Linked DNA regions of Homo sapiens: region 1 is linked to region 2. Evidence: promoter capture Hi-C in 16 types of primary human blood cells and fetal thymus (Javierre and others, 2016). All regions are on one chromosome and are shown on one strand. Each heading gives the region's core, a stretch centred on a gene start or on the middle of the fragment in contact. The rest is flanking DNA. Distances are from core to core; before and after follow the strand shown. Region 1 holds the start of ERCC6 (ERCC excision repair 6, chromatin remodeling factor). Region 2 holds the start of CSTF2T (cleavage stimulation factor subunit 2 tau variant).

Region 1 (3,148 bases), core at 457-2,956, 2.2 Mb after region 2:
GGGGCAGGAGTATAAAAGGGCTTGGACGACTTGCTAAATAACTTGGGACCTCATTTAACTAAATTCCCTCATTAAAGACCCTATCTTCAAATACAGTCACATTCTGAGGTCCCGGGGTGGGGGTGGGGAGTGGCGGTTAGGACTCCAGCATATGAATTTTGGGGAGGGGACACAATTCGGCCCTTAATAGCTCCAGTTGTGCCACCCTGAGTTGTTTTCCTGAACCCCGCCCACGTCTTTGTAAATAATAACTCTCAACTTCCCCTTTTGAGTGGACCATTTTTTCCTGTCCAAATTCTGATATAGGAAGGGTCTCCAAAATAGCTGCAAAGGGAACCTCAGTCTCAAAAGTTGGGATCCACTATATATCTGCTTTTACTTTCAAGCATTGAAACTAATGTCAATCAACTGCCTTTCTATTCTTAATATTTTATCCAAGAAATCGCTAGAATTCTTTCTCCTTTAAAAAAAAAAAAAAGCAAGTTACAAGCCGGGCGTGGTGGCTCACACCTGTAATCCCAGAACTCTAGGAGGCCGAGGCGGGTGGATCACCTGAGGTCAGGAGTTCGCGGACAGCTTGGCTAACATGACGAAACCCCGTCTCTACTAAAAACACAAAAATTAGCTGGGCATGGTGGCAGGCGCCTGTAATCCCAGCTACCCGGCAGGCTGAGGCAGGAGAATCGCTTGAACCTGGGAGGAGGAGGTTGCAGTGAGCCCACATCGTGCCATTGTACTCCATCCTGGGCGACAAGAGCAAAACTCCGTCTCAAAAACAAAAACAAAAACAAAACAAACAAAAAAACCCACTACCACCAACAAAAACAAGTTACATTGTGGGTTGGGGCCGCTGACAGGAGGAATAAGATGATGTTATGGAGCATTTCCTAGTCCCCTTTCCGACCCCATTTCCCTATTGTCCGACTTCAGGCTTCCAAGTGAGGACAGCACTTCCCAGGCAGTGACCCGCAGTCACTGCCCTCCCAGAGGACGTCCTGCCTCGCGGCCCTGGAAAGTCCACCTTCTCCTAGCACCGATCCTGAGCTGAGAAGCTCTGTCTGGTACAGCCATCCTGCATCGTGGGCTGCTTCTTTCCCCAGGCGAAGCTCAACTTCCTCCCATTGTTCTGAACCTCTGTGTGGACATCTTCTTTCTTCAAACGCACCACGGTAAAATTCTCGCCTGCCTCGAAACCCCGCCTACCTCTGAGATCTGAGGACGGATACTAAACGCTGGACTTAAGGCAATGTACACATGTAAGCAGGCTCTGTAGGCACTCACTCCGCCCAGGTGCGCGCGTGGCGGAGGGGGAACAGAGAAGCAGGACAGCTCTCCATCCTTCCCGTGTTCAGTCGTGGGAGACAACAAGAGAGGTCACAGCCTGGCGACCAAAAAGTGCGGCTAACTTCCCTGCCCAAGCTGACTTTCTCTGCAGGGTTCAAGGTTAATTGTGAGGATTTACATTCGCATGGCACACCCGCATCCCCCTCTACGTGGAAATATGTCTTAACTTTCATAACTGCCTTGCCAGCAGGGTATTTTTCGCTAGGGGCGAAGCGTCCTTCGCAAGCCACCCAGCTGACCGGCAGCGGAGACAGCTTTCTCGCCCTGCTCGCACGCAAGTAGAAAGGCGCTGCTGAGCCCGTCCCTCCAAACCACGTGGTCTTGCCCGTGCTTAAAAACAAACGCTGAGCCAGGCGCATGCGCCACGGGCCTCCCCGCACCAGCAGAAGTCGGAGTCGCTGTTGGGGGCGGTGTCTATGGTTGAGCTGAGGGCGCAGGCGCCACGGCCCGTCGAGCTGGGTTCCAAGGCGGCTGGCGGCGGTAGCGTCTCTGTTTCCTTGTGGGCGCTCGCGCGGCCCTGGGTGAGTGTTCGGGGGTCCCGGCCGAATGTCGGGCAGGGGGTGTCGGGGCCCAGCTCAGGCTTCTCGGGCGGGCCGCGGCCCCGCGCCTTGGCCTCGCCGTGGTGATTGAGCCTGTCAGCGAGGACGCACTGTAGCGGGTCTTAGGGCCAAGTGCCCGCTTCCGGCGGCCTCACCTGAGACCGGAAGTAGCGCCAAGGAGCGCTCACCTGAGGCGGCTTGAGTCCCTGGCCGGCCAGCGACCCAGCTACTTCTCCGACTTTGTATAAGGCCCCCTGCGCGCAGGGTCAGCTGGGTCCTTTTTGATCTCGATTAAAATGCTGGAGCTGTTATTTTAAAGAGAGTCGGGCTAGATGTACGTCCGACGTTTTGGGCGTTGATAGAGTCAAATTGATAAGAGTGTGGGCGGATGAGGCAGGCCGCCTGTAAATGCTGCTGTTACGTGACTTCCACGCAGCGTCTTAACTGCTGTCATCCTGTGACAGGCAGCCCTCGCTTTTCTCCTCAACTTTTCCCATCATCTTCTTGTTGCTTTGTCTCCTCCAATCCATTATCCGCACAGTTGTCCAGGTGGTCTCTGGCATAAAGTAGGTCATGCCATCATCAGCCTACTTAACAGTTTTCAGAGTCATTCCATTGCACTGGGAGTGGAATCCATGCTCGTGTTTTCCCAGGCCTTGTGTGATTTGGCCCTTGCCTGTCCCCTCTCAGAACTGTGCCTGTGTCCGACCAACCCTCCAAATGAGACCCAGCTTGCCCCTGGCTGCGGGAGCCCCAGTGATGGGGGAGGACGGTGAAGATACTAGTGTCCCAGATGATTAAGCCTTAGAAGATACTCTGCAAGACTTAGGCCATGAACGGAGCCCTTCTCTGCTCTTCTTAACTCAAAGTTAAAAATAAAGTCAAAAATTCGGTGTTCCAGCCTTCTTGCATTTTCACAAGTGCATCAGCTCTTTCTAGTCTTAAAAGTTACGCACGTTGTTGGGAGGCCGAGGTGGGTGGATCACCCGAGGTCAGGAGTTCGAGACCAGCCTTACCAACGTGGTGAAACCCTGTCTTTACTAAATACGAAAAATTAGCCGGGCATGATGGCATATGCCTGTAATCCCAGCTAATCGGGAGGCCAAGGCAGGAGAATCGCTTGAACCCGGAAGGCGGAGGTTGCAGTGAGCCTGGCGGAGCCTGGCGGAGGTTGCACTCCAGCCTGGGCAACCGGAGCGAAATTCCGTCTCAAAAAAAAAAAAAATTTCACACGTTGTTTCCTTGCAAGACGTTCACTTTACTTT
Region 2 (2,922 bases), core at 150-2,649:
GTTACATGTATGGCACACCTCAACCAGTATGTTAAATTTTGACTGGAAATACTTTCTTTTTATTTGTTTTTATTTTTTGTCTTAGTGTTCTTCAAAATGATTTTTATTTAGAACACAATTTATTATTGCAAAAGTAGATTCTATATCCAAGTTGTTCTAAATACTAAAAAAGTTTTCCAATAGCTTACTGAACATTAGTTTTTATATTTAAATAAAAAATGAGATTTAAAATTCATTTCTTCAATCACACTAGCTTCATTTCATATATTCAATACACGTAAGGCAGTGTAGAATTGGAGCTATGCGAGACCAAGCTGGGTTAGAATCCTGACTTGGCCTCTTTCCAGCTGCTTGTCCTTGGGAATTTACCTAGCCCTCTCCAAGCTTCAGTTCTAGCTTCGAATTGCAGGCGGGGAAACACCACACTGAATATGTTTTAACTCCTACCTGCAAAGCTAACAGCAGAAGACAAACACCCGCTATTTGTTTCTCCCTTCATGGAAGTGGTGGACTCACTGCATGATATAATAAAAATCAGAACCAATCAACGTAGGGATAGTTAAGTAAATTTCTTTATTCCATACTCTGAAGCCATAAAATACTAATAACTAATTAATCACTAATTTATTTAATCACCAATTAATATTGAAATCGGTTGTTATTAAGGAAGAAAACCGTAATATTAGGAATAGCACGACGGCTGCCCGTGTGCTCAGGAAAAACCTAGAAGGGTCTGCCACCCATCCATTAACAGCGGTTATAGGAAGCAACAGAATGGGGGCAGGGCCCAGCCGGCACACGCTTCAGTTTATATTTCTTGTCAGTTAATTTCCAAAAACGTTGTTCTAAAAAGGAGATATAATACTGTTTTAGTTTAAGGGGCAAATCTCAAATGTGCTGAAACGACTACGCTTTTCCCTCAGTCTGGAATGTGATTTTAAATCTAGCTTAACTATACTATAATAAAAGGCCACATGAAAATACTTTGTCAGAACGAAAAACACGCCGCCTTAAATCCGCTTTCGGTTGGCGGTTTCCCGCCAGCGGAACGGAAGCAAAACCGCCTTTGACGTCAAGGGAAGAGTCCCCTCCCAGTTACTACGGTGAAGTCTATGCGGCCATCTTTACTGTGGTCATCTCGTACCAAGCGTGTCGTAGTGGGGCTGTTGGGGCCCCACAGAAAGTCAGCGGAACGTGAAATGGGAAAGGAATCATGCGACTCTGTAATAAGAAGCTGACAGAACCATGAAGGATCAGGGACTGAAAGCATTAGATAAGTTGTTAGTGGGATGCAGGTTCCACAGGCAAGCGGAACGATTCAAGCGAATTAGTAAAGTTTCTGCCCGGATCTTGAAAGCCGCTTCCGTTGCTCAGCGGAAGTGTCGGTCGCAAGAGGACAGACGCCTCGAAGAATCCGCTATCGGCTGTCTGCACAACCGGAATCATGTCGAGTTTGGCGGTGAGAGACCCGGCAATGGATCGATCACTGCGTTCCGTGTTCGTGGGGAACATTCCATATGAGGCAACTGAGGAGCAGTTAAAGGACATTTTCTCGGAGGTTGGTTCTGTTGTCAGTTTCCGGCTGGTATACGATAGAGAGACGGGAAAACCCAAGGGCTATGGCTTCTGCGAATACCAAGACCAGGAGACCGCGCTTAGTGCCATGCGGAACCTCAATGGGCGGGAGTTCAGTGGGAGAGCGCTTCGGGTGGACAATGCTGCCAGTGAAAAGAATAAGGAGGAGTTAAAGAGCCTTGGGCCTGCAGCGCCCATTATTGACTCACCCTATGGGGATCCCATCGATCCAGAAGATGCCCCTGAATCGATTACCAGAGCAGTAGCCAGTCTCCCCCCGGAGCAGATGTTTGAGCTGATGAAGCAGATGAAGCTCTGTGTCCAAAACAGCCACCAGGAAGCTCGAAACATGTTACTTCAAAATCCACAACTGGCTTATGCACTGTTGCAGGCACAAGTAGTGATGAGAATCATGGATCCAGAGATTGCTCTGAAAATTCTGCATCGGAAGATACATGTCACACCACTGATCCCAGGCAAATCTCAGTCTGTGTCTGTCTCTGGCCCTGGCCCTGGCCCTGGCCCTGGGCTCTGCCCAGGACCTAATGTTCTGCTGAACCAGCAGAATCCTCCAGCTCCTCAGCCTCAGCATTTGGCTAGAAGACCTGTGAAGGACATTCCTCCTCTGATGCAGACTCCTATCCAGGGTGGAATTCCAGCTCCAGGGCCAATACCAGCTGCAGTTCCCGGAGCTGGTCCTGGTTCCTTAACTCCTGGAGGAGCAATGCAGCCCCAACTTGGAATGCCAGGGGTTGGCCCAGTGCCTTTAGAGCGGGGACAAGTGCAGATGTCAGATCCTAGAGCTCCTATACCTCGCGGACCCGTGACTCCTGGTGGTCTGCCTCCTCGAGGACTGTTAGGAGATGCTCCAAATGACCCACGTGGAGGGACTTTGCTTTCAGTCACTGGAGAAGTGGAGCCCAGAGGTTATCTGGGTCCACCCCATCAGGGTCCCCCCATGCATCATGCCTCTGGTCATGACACTCGTGGCCCTTCCTCACATGAGATGAGGGGAGGGCCATTAGGAGATCCCAGACTGCTAATTGGAGAGCCCAGAGGCCCCATGATAGATCAAAGGGGTCTACCTATGGATGGTAGAGGTGGTAGAGATTCTCGAGCGATGGAGACTCGTGCCATGGAAACTGAGGTCTTAGAGACACGTGTAATGGAGAGGAGAGGAATGGAGACCTGTGCGATGGAAACCAGAGGGATGGAAGCAAGGGGCATGGATGCAAGAGGATTGGAGATGAGGGGCCCTGTCCCCAGTTCAAGAGGCCCTATGACTGGTGGAATTCAGGGTCCTGGTCCCATTAATATAGGGGCAGGTGGCCCTCCTCAGGGACCCAG

Evidence for each region. The method cuts DNA at HindIII sites, captures the fragments that hold promoters and counts their contacts. A CHiCAGO score of 5 or more calls a contact.
Region 1: the fragment with the promoter of ERCC6 here is called in contact with the fragment with the promoter of CSTF2T in region 2 in 2 of 17 cell types (non-activated CD4 T cells and activated CD4 T cells); the score reaches 6.5 in non-activated CD4 T cells.

Annotation. Positions count from the first base shown.
Region 1 is chr10:49,537,679-49,540,826 of GRCh38, reverse strand. It overlaps ERCC6 (ERCC excision repair 6, chromatin remodeling factor), which reads left to right and starts at 1,706. Exons shown (of 21, transcript NM_000124.4): 1 at 1,706-1,865. RefSeq lists enhancers at 1,024-1,263, 1,294-1,353 and silencers at 1,774-2,063, 3,009-3,148. The HindIII fragment of the contact is 12,532 bases long and covers 1-3,148 here.
Region 2 is chr10:51,698,072-51,700,993 of GRCh38, reverse strand. CSTF2T (cleavage stimulation factor subunit 2 tau variant) reads left to right here and starts at 1,399. Exons shown (of 1, transcript NM_015235.3): 1 at 1,399-2,922. The coding sequence starts at 1,445. The region is part of intron 3 of PRKG1 (protein kinase cGMP-dependent 1); the gene reads right to left. RefSeq lists a silencer at 271-565 and enhancers at 319-1,007, 1,132-1,711. The HindIII fragment of the contact is 5,025 bases long and covers 387-2,922 here.